Regions from separate parts of the Homo sapiens genome. Here regions 1, 2, 3 and 4 are each linked to region 5. Evidence: promoter capture Hi-C in 16 types of primary human blood cells and fetal thymus (Javierre and others, 2016). All regions are on one chromosome and are shown on one strand. Each heading gives the region's core, a stretch centred on a gene start or on the middle of the fragment in contact. The rest is flanking DNA. Distances are from core to core; before and after follow the strand shown. Region 1 overlaps ELAVL1 (ELAV like RNA binding protein 1). Region 2 overlaps TIMM44 (translocase of inner mitochondrial membrane 44). Region 3 overlaps ADAMTS10 (ADAM metallopeptidase with thrombospondin type 1 motif 10). Region 4 overlaps ELAVL1 (ELAV like RNA binding protein 1). Region 5 holds the start of NDUFA7 (NADH:ubiquinone oxidoreductase subunit A7).

Evidence for each region. Contacts are between HindIII fragments. The CHiCAGO score rates a contact against its expected background, and 5 or more counts as called.
Region 1: a contact is called between a fragment that was not itself captured here and the fragment with the promoter of NDUFA7 in region 5, in 1 of 17 cell types (erythroblasts). The highest score is 5.3, in erythroblasts.
Region 2: a contact is called between a fragment that was not itself captured here and the fragment with the promoter of NDUFA7 in region 5, in 2 of 17 cell types (naive CD8 T cells and naive CD4 T cells). The highest score is 5.5, in naive CD8 T cells.
Region 3: a contact is called between a fragment that was not itself captured here and the fragment with the promoter of NDUFA7 in region 5, in 3 of 17 cell types (total CD4 T cells, naive CD4 T cells and naive CD8 T cells). The highest score is 6.2, in total CD4 T cells.
Region 4: a fragment that was not itself captured here is called in contact with the fragment with the promoter of NDUFA7 in region 5 in 1 of 17 cell types (naive CD8 T cells); the score reaches 5.8 in naive CD8 T cells.

The regions. Positions count from the first base shown.
Region 1 is chr19:7,959,551-7,962,697 of GRCh38, forward strand. ELAVL1 (ELAV like RNA binding protein 1) reads right to left here. Exons shown (of 6, transcript NM_001419.3): 6 at 1-3,147. Among named protein-coding and RNA genes, the nearest start is that of TIMM44, 17 kb to the left of the region's middle. The HindIII fragment of the contact is 248 bases long and covers 1,418-1,665 here.
Region 2 is chr19:7,936,895-7,940,112 of GRCh38, forward strand. It overlaps TIMM44 (translocase of inner mitochondrial membrane 44), which reads right to left. Exons shown (of 13, transcript NM_006351.4): 3 at 1,133-1,303. Among named protein-coding and RNA genes, the nearest start is that of TIMM44, 5.2 kb to the right of the region's middle. The HindIII fragment of the contact is 6,740 bases long and covers 1-3,218 here.
Region 3 is chr19:8,590,390-8,593,476 of GRCh38, forward strand. ADAMTS10 (ADAM metallopeptidase with thrombospondin type 1 motif 10) reads right to left here. Exons shown (of 26, transcript NM_030957.4): 13 at 2,374-2,481; 14 at 1,569-1,714; 15 at 1,411-1,474. Among named protein-coding and RNA genes, the nearest start is that of MYO1F, 14 kb to the left of the region's middle. RefSeq lists an enhancer at 1,412-2,010. The HindIII fragment of the contact is 2,010 bases long and covers 745-2,754 here.
Region 4 is chr19:7,996,037-7,998,907 of GRCh38, forward strand. All of the region lies in intron 1 of ELAVL1 (ELAV like RNA binding protein 1), which reads right to left. Among named protein-coding and RNA genes, the nearest start is that of ELAVL1, 8.2 kb to the right of the region's middle. The HindIII fragment of the contact is 4,520 bases long and covers 1-2,871 here.
Region 5 is chr19:8,319,530-8,322,729 of GRCh38, forward strand. NDUFA7 (NADH:ubiquinone oxidoreductase subunit A7) reads right to left here and starts at 1,846. Exons shown (of 4, transcript NM_005001.5): 1 at 1,779-1,846; 2 at 1,328-1,377. The coding sequence starts at 1,829. RPS28 (ribosomal protein S28) reads left to right here and starts at 1,967. Exons shown (of 4, transcript NM_001031.5): 1 at 1,967-2,040; 2 at 2,127-2,174; 3 at 2,424-2,562; 4 at 2,743-3,200. The coding sequence starts at 2,002. The coding sequence ends at 2,546. It overlaps KANK3 (KN motif and ankyrin repeat domains 3), which reads right to left. Exons shown (of 11, transcript NM_198471.3): 11 at 3,055-3,200. RefSeq lists enhancers at 1-933, 934-1,901, 1,756-1,995, 1,902-2,869, 2,870-3,200. The HindIII fragment of the contact is 9,773 bases long and covers 1-2,984 here.

The DNA.
Region 1 (3,147 bases), core at 292-2,791, 360 kb before region 5:
AAAATTTGTTTTTTTAAATGGCCAAGAAAGAAACCTGAACGATGTCACTGAAAGGTTGTAGAAAAATAGGATCCAGCCATTAGAGGTCAGGGGAAATCAAAAAGGTTTGGAAATGTGAACCCTGCCTGGGATCCGAGATTCAGATTCTACTGCCATCATTACACGCCAATTGCCAATGCCACTTAAAAGAAAGCACTTGTGACTTCAGGGCTGTCTTGCGAAGTTTGGGGACAGGAACCCCTGACCCCCAGAGTCAGCTAAACCCCAGGGGTCTCTGCTAAGGAGCTGCCTCAGGTCCTAGTAGGTGAGGTAGGTCTGGGGAAGATGGGAGGGGATTGAGGTGGAGGGTGGGGTGGAGGGACAGGATAGAGGCCTCCTGTCAGCTGAATTCTTATTCTCTTTCATCCAACACAGGAAGGCTGCGAAAAGCACATGGAAATAAAAGGGGGCTGAATCGGATGTGAAATGTAACAGCTGAGTGATGTCAATTTCGATTTTTCAAGTCCGATGCCGGACTGGGTAAGTCATGTCTTTTCAATGCCTGGTGGACAAATGGCCTTCATTTGGAAGCAAACCGGGTCAAGGAATTGCCACTAACCGTCTTCGGGTGCTTCTATTTCTCTGATCCAGCAGGGACCCCTGGGCTGCCGGCTCCAAAGGGCCGGTCTTGGCTCCCAACAGCAGCACGGTTCAGTCCCTGGAGGCTGGGTCTCCAGGACTAAGGCCAAGCGCAGACTCTCAGAGGTTAAGGCAGCTGCCCTTGGCCAGGAAAAGGCTCACCTTCCAGGAGAAGGTGGCGGAACCCACCCAGCACCACCTGCGGGCGGGCCCCCGAGGAAGCCCATGAATTTCAGGATATTCACGCAGGATGGTGGCCGGGGAGGGGACTCAGCACCCGGGAGGGAATCAGTCACAGAGCTGCGACTAGAGGCACAGCCAGCACAGAAAACTGCGGCTTGGCAAATTACACTGAAAACGAAATAATGGCAGAGCCAAGGGGGAACAAGGGAGAATTCATCAGGAAGCAGGTTCACAAATTCGGAGCTGCCTGGGGTCTAACTACCAGAGGAAGTTACACACGGGTCAAAAGGGAATTCAATCAAAGCCTCTTTGGTATTTCCCAAACCAGATTTTTGATAAATGAACATTATCTACTCTGAACGCTTTTTCATCGAAATTCCCAAATAAAAGCAGAGCACTCATTTTTGCTAAATAGAAATACAACTGATCTATGTAAAATTTTTTAAGAAATGGTTTCTTTTGGGTTGAGCCTTTTTTAAGAAAAGGGATCTCCCCTTTGCAAACAGGCCTTGATAAGATGTAATGAACTTTGAGGACACAGGGCCAGCAACTAGAACCTTGATGGAACAGAGATTGCTTTTCAGGAGTGACAGTTGTTAAGCTAAATCCTTCCACAAGCTTGCAAGCTAAGACTCCCAAATAAAGGCTTTGGAATTTTTTAGCTAGAAGGCTGTTCAAACAGCGGAGACCACATACAATGAGAATGTTCCTGAACTGAGAAACTTCAGGGAACTTTCAAAGGCTCATATACTTCACAGTTTCTTCTCACCTGTCCCAGCATCAGAATAATTGATAGGATTCAGATAAAAGGGGGCGAGGAAAGAAGCTGAGGTGCTACAAGCCCGTCATCATTTTCACAGTTGAAGCTTAAGACAGAGTTCTCTGTTGAATGCTAGCTATGGGCATGTGTGGGAGTGAGACTCCAGGGGGAGTTTCAGAAGCGGGAATCCCGCCTTCCATCAGAAGGGTGTTGGCTCCCACCTTCCATCAGAAGGGTGTTGGCTCCCACCTTCCATCAGAAGGGTGTTGGCTCCCACCTTCCATCAGAAGGGTGTTGGCTCCCACCTTCCATCAGAAGGGTGTTGGCTCCCACCTTCCATCAGAAGATGCTGGCCCAGGGAAACCTGAAAGGCTTCTTTTTCCAGGAAAGCATTCTGGTCCCAGGATGCAGACTGCTCTCGGGCAACAGAGCAGGGACCCTCTTTTGTGTCGAATCCGGGCAATGGGCCTCGGTTTTGGCTTTTCCTGAGGATCTGGGATTCTGTGGGAGAAAGGAGGTCCTCTCTGGCACCAGGCCGACTTTTATGAGACACAGCCTGGGTACGGATGGCAACATCATCAATTTGCAAGGATCGCGCACACAGCCCCTCAGTAAAAGATCAGGGAAAGGGGAGGGGATGGGCATCCTCAATTGTCCAGGGGCCTCTCGAGACGCTGACCTGCTCTGGGGACGGTGGTGCCTGCCTATTGCTCAATTTCACACTTCAATAAATAAATACATAAATAGGTATAAATAAACAGATAAATACAGCCATCATCTCATGAGAGCAATAACTAAAAAACAGCCTACGGTCACGTTTTAGTCTCACGTCAAGGTTAAAAACTGCTGGTACTAAGTTATCCTGTTTGTGATTCTCTCTGTAAACTAGTTATTTATAAACGCCAGATCCCAGTCCTGAGGAGTTTTGGGTGATCTGGCCCTGCCTATTTCACAGGCTTTCTCTTTCACCCTTCCTCCGGGCTCCTGGTTTAAAAGCCACCAGCCTGTAACTGCACATTCTTGCGTCACAGATTCAGAAATGCTTTTGCTTGAGGCAAGGATTGGTTTCTTAAGATCTTACGACTCCTCCCTGAATGCTGGGCCACCTGCACCTTCCCTAGCCAAAAAGAAAGAAAAGGTAAAATAAAAAACAAAACAAAATTCGAGCAAAACAAAATCAAATTTAATGGTCTTAAATGCAAAAGTAAAAACAAACAAAAAACACAAAAAAGCAAAAGAAAATTAACAGAACAGAACAACCCAAAATGTCAAGGCAGTTATGAAGAGAACTTTGAGGGTTAATCTTTAAAACTACAAATCAAAGGTTTTGGTTAATAGATAACTGGCAAGAAGTAAGTACTTTTCTGCTGAGTGTTCATACAAAAGCAAAATTCCAAAACAAAATCCGACTAAAATAGAAAAAGGTCTAAGCGCTCACGAGAAGGGATGCGAGAAATACAATGCTCAAATGTTTCTGTGTTATTAAAATACAGAGCCATTTTACGCCTCCAAGCTATGTTAAATGCTCTGGAAAACGGGAGAAATTATCGTGAACAACAGTATCCAATGTGTGGGGCGCTGTGCAT
Region 2 (3,218 bases), core at 319-2,818, 380 kb before region 5:
GTTCAAGGCCAGCCTGGCCAACATGGTGAAACCCTGTCTTTACTAAAAATACAAAAATTAGCTGGGCAGTAGTGGTGTGTGTCTGTAATCCCAGCTACTCGGGAGGCTGAGGCAGGAGAATCGCTTGAGCCTAGGAGGCAGAGGTTGTGTTGAGCCAAAATCGTACCACTGCACTCCAGCCTGGGCAATGGAGTAAGACTCTGCTTCAAAAAACAACAACAACAACAACAACAAATCAGCTGGGTGTGGTGGCGGGCGCCTGTAATCCCAGCTATCCGGGAGGCTGAGGCAGGAGAATCAGGAGCTGGAGGTTGCAGTGAGCCAAGGTCACGCCACTGCACTCCAGCCTGGATGACAGAGCAAGACTCCATCTCATAAAATAAAATAAAATAAAATAAAATACCAGCACCATCACCCAGTTTCCACCAGGCTCCACTCAGAGGGCTACAGCTGGGAGCTCTCAGGAGCGCTGCATCCCATAGCTGGTGTGCATGCGTTGCCTGGGGGCCTGTGAAGATGCGGGCGCTGGCCTGGCAGTTTGGGAGGGTGTGAGCCTCTGCACTGCTCATCCACTCCCAGGAGGAGCCACTGCTGCTGGTCTGGGGACCACGCTTCAAGCTGCACAGAACGCTGCATGGTCTCATGGCAGAACCCAGAGGCCTGGAGACCCGCACCTGTCCCCTGGCTCCCTCTCATTAGTGCATCAGAGCAGTGACCTCACTTCCTCACGAGCCACCCTGCCCCCAACCGTCCAGCCCTGAGCTCCTCTGGCTGTCCCTGGCCTGGAGAAACCCTGGCCCTGGAAACAAACATGTCAACCAAGAAAGGTAAGAAGCAAAGGGGCCCAACGCGGTGGCTCACGCCTGTAATCCCAGCACTTTGGAAGGCTGAGGCGGGCGGATCACTTGAGGTCAGGAGTTCGAGACCAGCCTGGCCAACATGGTGAAACCTCTTCACTACTAAAAATACAAAAATTAGCTGGGCGTGGTGGTGCGCGCCTGTAAGCCCAGCTACTCAGGAGGCTGAGGCAGGGGAATCACTTGAACCTGGGAGGTGGAGGTTGCAGTGAGCCGAGATCGCACCACTACTCTCCAGCCTGGGTGAGGGAAAAAAAAGCAGCAAAGAAACTCACGTATTTCCTTCTGGCCTCCTGGAGCACGTCTGATTCTTCTAGCCTTCTGGCCTCGTCACGGAATTTTTTTATACTTTCTTTCATTTCTTTGTTTTTGGCTAATTCTTGTTTGACATTATCTAGCAAGCCGGACAGAAAGCCTTTTCTGTTTCCAGAAGAATATGATTTGGACTAGAAAGAATGTACAAGAAAAAAAATTTAAAGAACATAGTAGAACATAGAATGAAATGCCCCACAGAGGGACTCAGGGATTTTTTTAAATGTTCTCTTTTCGGTTGATATACATTTAATGATGATTAGCTATCTCTTTTATAATAATCATAAAAAACAAAGAAACAGCAGGTGATAAAAGTGTGGTATATCCAGACAACAGAATATTATTCAGTGCTGAAAAAAAAATGAGCTCTCAGCCACTTTAGGAGGCTGAGGAGGGAGGATTGCTTGAGGTCATGAGTTTTAAGACCAACCTGGGCAACACAGCACCCTATTTAAAAAACAGGCTGGGCGCGGTGGTTCACGCCTGTAATCCCAGTACTTTGGGAGGCTGAGGCGGGCAGATCACCTGAGGTCAGGAGTTCGAGACCAGCCTGGCCAAAATGGTGAAACCTCATCTCTACTAAAAATGCAAAAGTTAGCTGCGCATGGTGGTGTGTGCCTTTAGTCCCAGCTCCTCAGAAGGCTGAGGCACAAGAATTGCTTGAACCCAGGAGGAAGAGGCTGCAGTGAGCCAAGATTATGCCACAGCACTCCAGTCTGGGTGACAGAGCGAGACTCCATCTCAAATAAAATAAAATAAAATAATTTAAAAAACAAGCAAGAAATATGCTCTCAAGCTGTGAAAAGACACAGAGGAACCTTAAATGTATATTGCACTAAGTGAAAGAAGCCAATCTGAAAAGGCTACATACTGTCTGATTCCAACTATAGACCGTTCTGGAAAAGGCAAAACTAAGGGGACAGTAAAAGATCAGTGGTTGCCAGGGGTTTGGTAGGAAGAGGGTGAGATGAGTAGGGGGGAACACAGAAAAATGTTAGGGCAGTGAAACTACTCTTATGATACTGTAATCACAGAGAATGTACACCACCAAGAGGGAACCGGAAGGTAAACCATGCATTTATTAATAATAATGTATCAACATCCTGTCAATTGTGACAGATGCTCCACACTAATGCAGGACGTGAAGAATAGAAAACTGTGTGCCAGATGGGAGAGGAGGGGCATGGCAACTCTTTGGACATTCTGTTGGATTTTTCTGTAAACCTAAAACTGCTCAAAAGATAAAGCCTTGTGAAAGCAAAACAAGGCCGGGCGCAGTGGCTCCTGCCTGTAATCTCAGCACTTTGGGAGGCCAAGGTGGGTGGATCACTTGAGGTCAGGAGTTCCAGACCAGCCTGACCAACATAGTGAAACCCCCGTCTCTACTAAAAATACAAAAATTAGCTGGGCGTGGTGGTGGGTGCCTGTAATGCCAGCTACTCAGGAGGCTGAGGCAGGAGAATCACTTGAACCCAGGAGCCGGAGGTTGCAGTGAGCCAAGATTGTGCCACTGCACTCCAGCCTGGGTGATGGAATGAGACTCCATCTCAAAAAAAAAAAAAAAAAAGCAGGCTGGACACAGTGGCTCATATCTGTAATCCTAGCACTTTGGGAGACCGAGGTGGGCGGATCACTTGAGGCCAGGAGTCCGAGACAAGCCTGGCCAACATGGTGAAACCTTGTCTCTACTAAAAATACAAAAATTAGCCAGGTGTGGCGGCGCCTGCCTGTAGTCCCAGCTACTGAGGCAGAGGCAGGAGAACTGCTTGAACTCGGGAGGTGGAGGTTGCAGTGAGCGGTATCTCGCCCCTGCACTCCAGCCTGGGCGACAGAGTGAGACTCTGTTTCAAAAAAACAACAGAGAAACAGTTTAATGAATGATCATACAATAATCCAATCAGGCGGAAGGGGCCGCCTGTGGTCAACTTTTCCACAGCTGTGTTGGGTATACCAGCTCCAGGTGGGATCCCCCTCCCTGGCTCCTGTCAAGCTACAAGAGAAAGCTGCATCCAGCCTGGTGCTCAGGCCCCGTGGAGTCACACACCTGTG
Region 3 (3,087 bases), core at 500-2,999, 270 kb after region 5:
CAGCCTCCCGAGTAGCTGGGATTACAGGTGCATGCCACTATGCCTGGCTAATTTTTGCATTATTTATTTATTTATTTATTTATTTTTAGACAGAGTTTCGCTCTCGTTGCCCTAGTTGGAGTGCAGTGACACAATCTCGGCTCACTGCAACCTCCGCTTCCTGGATTCAAGTGATTCTCCTGCCTCAGCCTCCCAAGTAGCTGGGACTACAGGCGCGTGCCACCACGCCTGGCTAATTTTTTGTATTTTTAGTAGAGACGGGGTTTCACCATGTTAGCCAGGCTGGTCTCGAACTCCTGACCTCAGGTGATTGACCCGCCTCGGCCTCCCAAAGTGCTGGGATTGCAGGCATGAGCCACCTCATCCGGCCTAATTTTTGTATTTTTAGTAGAGATGGGGTTTTGCCATGTTGGCCAGGATGGTCTCGAACTCCTGACCTCAGGTGATCTGCCTGCCTCAGCCTCCCAAAGTGCTGGGATTATAGGTGTGAGCCACTGCACCTGGCCACATGGAGTCTTTCTTGAGAGAGAAGGTCTGGAAGGGATCAGGGTTTATAGAAAGTGCTAGCATGTGGATTCTCTGAAGACCTGGTTCCCCCCAGCTGGGAGGCTGAAAAGTCCAAAGCTCTCACTGCCCTCTAAAACACCCCCTCCCCAGTAAACTTCTCACTGCTCACTGATGGTTGCAGGTCAGCTGAGGGCACAAGCAGAGGACAGACACCTGTCACTGGGTTTGGTGAGAGGAAGCTTCAGCTACAACTTTGGGGGATGACAGAAGGCAGGGGTAGGACTCTTCAGGGGAAGTTGGGCTGTAAAGGGAGGGGAGAGACTGGATGGTAGGGGGTTGTGAGGGCCAAGCAGTGATTTCAAGGTGGGGGCTTGTAGTCTAAATGTAGGAGGAAAAGAGAGCTGGAAGGAGCCAGGTCTTTAAGGAGGAGGGGTTGGGGACGAGAAGGTGGTGGGGGTCAGGGAGAGGAGGGAAGAGAGGGGTGGCGGCTGCAGGTTCCCCAGGAGGCAGCAGGTGCCTGGATGAAGCACTCTGATAGCGTTTTTGTTTTTTTTTTTTTTTTTGAGATGGAGTTTCGCTCTGTCACCCAGGCTGGAGTGCAGTGGTGCGATCTCGGCTCACTGCAGCCTCCGCCTCCCGGGTTCAAGCGATTCTCCTGCCTCAGCCTCCCGAGTAGCTGGGATTACAGGCGCCTGCCACCACGCCCAGCTAATTTTTGTATTTTTAGTAGAGACGGGGTTTCACTATGTTAGCCAGGATGGTCTCGATCTCCTGACCTCGTGATCCGCCTGCCTTGGCCTCCCAAAGTGTTGGGATTACAGGCGTGAGCCACGGTGCCCGGCCTCTGATAGCTGTTTTTAATGCTTCCTCCCCCCACCCCTCAAGGGGTTTGGGGGAACTCACATCCGTGTTGCAGGAGCGGTGCCGCCTTCTCTCACCCAGACAGTACTTGCCCCCGATGGTTGGCCTGGAAAGGGTGGTGGGATAGGAGAGGGATGAGGCAGTGGGCGATGGGGGCAGGGGTCGCGCTGCCCTCCCGGGTGGGGGTCCTGAGGGCTGACCTGGGGCTGTCGCAGTGACGGCTAGAAGAGGACACGCCGCCGCCACAGGTCCGGCTGCAGTCGCCCCATGGAGTCCACGGCCCCCAGGCTCCGTCCACACCCTCTGGGCGCGACCCAAAGGGGACACAGACCCGTTTGTAGCACCACTGGGTGGGGGGAGACAGGAAGGAGTGAGTCCAGCCCGGAGGACACTCGTCGGCCCCATGCACCGTTCCCCACTCCAGGCCCCAGCCAGAGATATCAGCCTCTCCGGGATGGGCAGAGGCGGGGTCTGAACATGCGAACAGAGTCAGGTTACGTAGGAGAGTGGTCTGGGAGACAGACCAGGTACAAGCGAGAGGCGTGGCCTGAGCACAGGGTGCTTAACGGGGAGGGGTGTAGACAGGACCACGATAAGCGTGGAGACGAGGTGGGGCGTGGCTTCAGGCTGGGGAGGGGAGGTCTACAGGCAGTAGGCGTGGCCAGAGCCGAGGGCAGCACAGGGGATGGGCGTGGCCAATGAGGGAGAGAGCAAACAGTAGGCGTGGCCAGAGCCGTGGGAATCATTACACGGTGGGCGTGGCCAACGCGGGAGGGAGTTAAACAGTAGGCGTGGCCAGAACCAAGGGACGCATAGACGGTGGGCGTGGCCAACGCGGGAAGGAGCAAGCAGTAGGCGTGGCCACAGCCGAGGGAGCACAAATGGCGGGCGTGGCCAATGTGGGAGGGAGCAGATAATAGGCCGAAGGACAGGCGGGTAGGCGTGGCCAACGCGGGAGGTGGCTCAGGGGGCGTGGCCCAGTTGGGGGCCCTGGCCGGCGCTCACCCCCTTGTCGATGGTGTGCGTCTGGCACAGCGTGCCCTCGGCGGCCGGGATGCTGTTGGTGATGCACCGGTTGCTCTTGCTCAGACACCACAGCTCGCTGCAGACCTCCTGCGGGCCGAGGTGCCCGCTCAGGCTCGCCCCCCTCCCTTCCTCCCTGGGGCAGCCCGCCCGGCTTGGGAGGACCCAGATGTCCGGCTCACTGCCGGTCCCAGAGCAGAGAGCCCGGTGCTCCCTTCCTGGCTCGCGGTGGGTCTTCGTGCATCCCCTTGCGGGGCATGGCCTGTGACTTATACTCTCCCAATAAGCTCCATTTATGGAGCACTTTATACATGCCATATACCTCTTTAGGCAGTACTACCCCATCTTACTGGGAGAAAACCAAGCTTCAGACAGGTAAGGTCACACAGCTACTAAGGGAATAGCCTGGAGTTTAACCCAGCTCTTTAATTCAGAGTCTGTGCTCTAACGAACTTTGCAATTCAGTTCCTGGTGCCTTCTGAGTTTCTGGAAGGAAACGTGGGAACTGCTGAGGAATGAACAGGAAGGATTTGGGGTTCTTTTATGGGATGGGCAAAGTAGCCGAAGAGAAAGTGGTGGTTCTGAGAAATCGGCCTGGATGATGACTAGGCCAACGGCCTCATCTCTAGTTTTTTCCAGCTGTTGGTTCTCTTTGTTCCCCCATCTAAACTGGAGAAGCCCCCAACACTTTTAAGC
Region 4 (2,871 bases), core at 229-2,728, 320 kb before region 5:
TGGCTAATTTTTTATTTTTTGTCGAGATAGGGTCTCACTATGTTGCCCACGCTGGTCTTGAATTCCTGGTGTCAAGTGATCCTCCCATCTTGGCCTCTCAAAGTATTAGAATTATAGGCGTAAGCCACCTCACCCAACCCAGAACCCTTTTTTTTTTTTTTTTGAAATGGAGTCTTGCTCTGTCACCCAGGCTGGAGTGCAGTGGCATGATCTCCGCTCACTGCAAGCTCCACCTCCCGGGTTCATGCCATTCTCCTGCCTCAGCCTCCCAAGTAGCTGGGACTACAGGCGCCCGCCACCATGCCCAGCTAATTTTTTGTATTTTTAGTAGAGACGGGGTTTCACCGTGTTAGCCAGGATGGTCTCCATCTCCTGACCTCGTGATCTGCCCATCTGCCCACCTCGGCCTCCCAAAGTGCTGGGATTACAGGCGTGAGCCACCACGCCTGGCCCAGAACACTTTTTTTTAAGCTCTCAAAACAGAAGCAGGCTAGTGTGCTGGCTCATGCCTGGAATTCCAGCACTTTGGGAGGCCGAGGTGGGTGGATCACCTGAGGTCAGGAGTTTGAGACCAGTCCGGCCAACATGGTGAAACCCCATCTCTACAAAAATACAACAAAAAAAAAATTAGCAAGGCGTGGTGGTGGGCATCTGTAATCTCAGTTACTGGGGAGGCTGAGGCAGGAGAATCGCTTGAACCTGGGAGGCAGAGGTTGCAATGAGCCGAGATGGCGCCACTGTACTCCAAACTGGGCGATAGGGCCAGACTCCATCTCCAAAAACCAAAAACAACATAATGAGCAAACAACCTGGTTTCAAAAATGGCAAAAGATTTGAACAGATACTATACCAAAGAATATATATGGATGGCAGACAGGCACATGAAAAGATGCTCAACATCATTAGTCAAATTAAAACCACATCGAGACACCGCTACCCACTTATTAGAATGGCTAAAGCAAAATAAAACAAAAAACAACCAACAGCAACAAAACAGACAATGTCAAGTGCTGGCAGGGATGTGGAGAAGCCAGAATATTCATGCACTGCTGGTGGGAATGCAAAAATGTGAAATGTGACAGCCACTTTGGAAAACAGATTGGCAGTTTCTTATGGTGAAATATACACTTAGCATGGGATCCAGCAATCCTACTCCTAGTATTAAGGCAATAGAAAGGAAAATCTATATTCACACAAAAATCTGTATATAAATGTGCAGAGCGGCATTATTCATAATCATCCAAAACTACAACAACCCAAATATTCTTCAAGCCATTCATGGATAAACTGGGATACACCATACAACAGAATACCACCTGGCAATAAAAGGTATCACCAATTCATGCTACTTGTGTGAATCTCAAACACATCTTGCCACATCATTTCTGTGCCTTCCTGGAAAAGGCAAAACCATAGGGATGGATCTGTGGTCGCTGGGGTTAGGGAGTGAGGGGAAAAGTCGATTACACAGGGACAGGAGGAGGGAGTATTTCTGTTTGTGGGAGAGCGAACTTTCCAATCTTTATTATGGTGGTAATCAAACAACTTTATCCGTTTGTCAAAACTCAGAGAACTCTACTCGAAAAAATGAATTTTCCTACATGCAAATTTAAAAATAAATTGTCTGAGTGTGGCGACTCATGCCTTTAATCCCAGCGCTTTCAGAGGCCAAGGTGGGAGGACTGCTTAAGCCTGGAGTTCAAGACCAGCCTGGGCAGCACAGAGAGATGCCATCATTACAAAAAAAAAAAAAATTAAAAATTACCCAGGAATGGTGATGCACACCTGTATGCAATCCCAGCTAATCGGGGGGCTCAGCTGGGAGGATCACTAGAGCCTGGGAGGTCAATACTGCAGTTAGCTATGATTGTGCCACTGCAGTCCAGCGTGGGCGACAGAGTGAGATCCTGCCTCAAAAACAACAACAAAACCACAATAAAAATAAATTTTAAAAGGTTTAAAAAGAGAACTTCTGCTTTGCGGCCCTGTTCCTCCTGACACTCTGAGTCAAGGCTGAGCAGCCCCTGCAGGTCAAGTTCTTGGTCAACTAGTAACACGGGAGAAACCAACAACCTGCCCTGCAAAGCAGTTTCATGACGTTTCTGGGCCCCCACCCCACTCTCTGGAGGCCCTTCCCTTGACCTTCTCCAAATCTGCATCATCAATCCTGGGCCAAATCAGCTTCTATCCCACAAGCTCCAACCACAACTGGGCCTTGTCACCACTCAATTATCACTGACTCCCAAGTCGTAGCCACTTCTGTCTCTCGAGGTGCAAGGCCTGCACTGTCCTGCAATCAAGATGCTCACCCCTCTGGTATTCCCTGTCAGTGGTCACCACCCATTGAGGCTCGGCGGTCACACGATGATGCTCACGGTCAGGCATGCCATTAATAAGTGGCAGGGCCAGGCCTCAAGTTGTCATGACAATGCAACTGTCAAACTGGCAAGGCCCTTCACAATCGGACCCAGGTGGTTCTCCAGCCTCAGTCGCCACCCTCCCTTCCCGCTCACTCCAGCTTCTTGCCAATATGCTACAGGCCTCTGCTTTGGCTGTTCCCTCTGCAGGGCACTAGTGTCCTCTCCTTCACTTCCCAGCTCATTTTTTAAAATTAGTATTTTTTTTTAAAGAGATGGGGGTCTCTCTTTGTTGCCCAGGCTGGTCTTGAACTCCCAAGCTCAAGTGATCCTCCTACTTTGGCCTCCCAAAGTGCTGGAATTGCAGGTGTGAGCCACCATGCCTGGCCTCCCAGCTCACTTCTATTTTTACTTATTTTTCTTTTGAGAAAGGGTCTTGCTCTGCTGCCAAACTAGAGTGCAGTGGCATAATCACGGCTCACTGCAGCCTCAAACTGCCTCAGTTTCCCAAGTA
Region 5 (3,200 bases), core at 596-3,095:
AGCCTGGGCAATAAGAGCAAAACTCCGTCTCAAAAAAAAAAAAAAAAAAAAGTTGAAAACAAAGTTTGATACTTCTAATATTTGGAATTAGTCACAACATATAGGCATTTACATAAATTTCATTATTTTAATGCTATTTTTCTTCCTTTCATTATAATCCTCAATGACTGCCTTACCTCTGCCTACCCTTTGACTTCATAGATTATACCATTATCCCTTTCCCTCAATGGGTTCCATCCATACTGGCCTCCTTCCACTCAGGCTCTGTCCAGCCTGACACTCTTAGCCCTTCCTGTTCCCTCTGCTCAGAATGTTTTTTCTTTTTTATTTTTTTGAGACAGAGTGTTGTTCTGTCACCCAGGCTGGAGTGCAGTGGTGCGATCTCAGCTCACTGCAATATCCACCTCCTGTGTTCAAGCGATTCTCCTGCCTCAACCTCCCGAGTAGCTGGGACTACCCGCGCGCGCCACCACGCCCGGCTAATTTTTGTATTTCTAGTAGAGAGGGGGTTTTACTGTGTTTCACTGTGTTGGCCAGGCTGGTCTCAAACTCCTGACCTCGTGATCCGCCTGCCTCAGCCTCCCCAAGTGCTGGGATCACAAGCGTGAGCCACCGCGCCCGGTCAGAATGTTTTTTCAATAATTATTCTTTGAATGGGTCCTTCCCATCATTCAGGGGACTCAACTGTCAATTTCCAAAGAAAGATCTTTCCCAATCATCTGACTTTACGTAGCCACCCTCCAGCTTCCACTTATTTTGTTTTGTCTTCAAAGCATTCCAGAACAATACTACCTGCTGTGTTTGTTTCCCTACTATGCTTCTCCCTAGAATGTGGCGTCCATGAAAGAATGTGGATAAGAACTTTCCTGGTTCACAAAGTTAAACCCAAGGCTGAGGTCATACATGACGGGGGCTTGTAAATATCAACTAATATTTTAATATAAATGAGTCTGAAATCAGGACACTTCTGGGTTCAAGTCCCCGCTGCCACTTTTTAGCTTCTGAGTGACTTGAGGCAAATGATTTCGCCTCTCTGGACCTCTTTTTTCATCTGTAGCTTGGGGATAACACTGACTAACATGGCCACGCTGAGCACTGCAAATCTAGCCTGATTGCCAGTCAGAATGCACGCCCGGCCTCGCTGTTTCAGGAGGGCTGTCCTCCGGAGTTCAGCAAGGTTAAAGGCAAACCTCTGCCTCCACAGCCTGGCAGGGGACTGGTGGCAGGATGTCAGCCCTCCGTTTCAGGGGTCTAAAGGAACACAGATTTCGTTTTTGGTGGAGAAAGGACAGAGCCAGAGGCTGGGCAGCGAGCGGGGCCTGCTCACCGCTTGGAGATCTCCTGGTAGCGTAGCTGCAGCTTCCCCTGCAGGTCATGCTGTGGGAAGAGGAGAGGAGAGGTCGGCCTGCAAGGCACCCCAGGAGAGAGGAAAGGAGAGGGCAAGGGACCAGGGATGGTCCGGGGATGCGCATTTTAAGGGAAGGCAGGGGATGAACACTCGGGGAAACGGATGTGGGTCCTGCAGGTGAAGAGCAAAGCCAGAGTCCGGGCCCACAGATCCAAGGCTAAGAAGGTCGGGGACTGGGGAAATCCCAGGCCTGAGTGGTTCCCAGGCCAGGAGAGGGTCCCGGGCTGAAGGGGTGACTAGCTGGGGGTTCCCAGGGAGATTCGGGGAGAGCGAAGGGTCCCGGCTTAGGAGGGAGGTGAGGAGCAGGAGCGGGTCCCGGACACACGGAGCCCGAAGCCCCCCATGGTGCAGCCCTGTCCGCCCCGCGCACCCCGGACGCCCAGTTCCGCAGCCGCTGGATGAGACGGGTGGCGGACGCCATCTTCCGTCCGCGATACTGAAGGGCGCAGCCGGTGACGTCTCCACCGCTGGGGCTGCTGGGAAAGACGCGGCGTGGTATCGCGAGACGGGAGTGGGCGGTGCTAGAACGTCCTATAAAGGCTCTCCCCGAAGCACGTGACTCCTCTCCGCCAGACCGCCGCCGCGCCGCCATCATGGACACCAGCCGTGTGCAGCCTATCAAGCTGGCCAGGGTGAGGTGGGGGCCCGAATTTGGGGGCAGGGGGAGGGATTAGAGGAGCCAAACGGGCCGGGTCTGAACCCAGCTTCTTTCCTCCAGGTCACCAAGGTCCTGGGCAGGACCGGTTCTCAGGGACAGTGCACGCAGGTAATCGGGTGGGGGCATTTGGCCGACTGCCGGCGACCTAAACCCTGATGTGACCTCTACCCTGCCCTAACCCCTGCCAGCCGGAATCCGGGAGCCGATTCTCATTTCATCACGGGGTTCTGATGGTTCCCTTTAACGATCTGTATTCTGGCCCCGACACGTTCTCTGAATTCATATCTGCTTCCCACTCCGCGGTGCCTTTCCGCGGCCCGCCCTTACTTCTTCCTCCACTCCGGTGGGGACCCGTAGGTGCGCGTGGAATTCATGGACGACACGAGCCGATCCATCATCCGCAATGTAAAAGGCCCCGTGCGCGAGGGCGACGTGCTCACCCTTTTGGAGTCAGAGCGAGAAGCCCGGAGGTTGCGCTGAGCTTGGCTGCTCGCTGGTGGGTGCAAAGAGGACACCCCTTTGATAGACCTTTGGTTGGTGGTAGGGAGGCTTCGTTAAGCCCAGGGTGAGAGGGTTTGGGAGGCAGAGTCTACATACAGAGACTGACAAGAGGGAGGCGGGAGTTTGCCAATTGCTGCGGGGCCTGTCAACATCTCATGTTTGGGTCTGTTTACAGGGTCTTGGATGTCGGGTTCGACCACTTGGCCGATGGGAATGGTCTGTCACAGTCTGCTCCTTTTTTTTGTCCGCCACACGTAACTGAGATGCTCCTTTAAATAAAGCGTTTGTGTTTCAAGTTAACTCAGGTTCTTGTCTGGGTTATACGACTAGGGTTTCTCCAGGTTTCTTGAGTGGCTCCCAGGCGGTCACCGATCCTCCGCACTCTGGAAATCCTGGCCGTGCGGTCTTGCCAAACGAAGCTTTTCCTTTTTGAGGCGGGGGGTCGTGTTTGTCGATTGCACCCTCTACCCCAAACAAAACACAAGCGTAGTAGGAATGTTTTATTAGCAAAGAAGTTTCAGAGAGTGGGTGGATCAGGGCTCTATCACTTGGTCCCCACCTCACCTTGGTGGGGCCAGAGTGAGCCCCTTCCTGCCACAGTCACCCCAACTGAAATTGCCTTTCTCTTCGGCC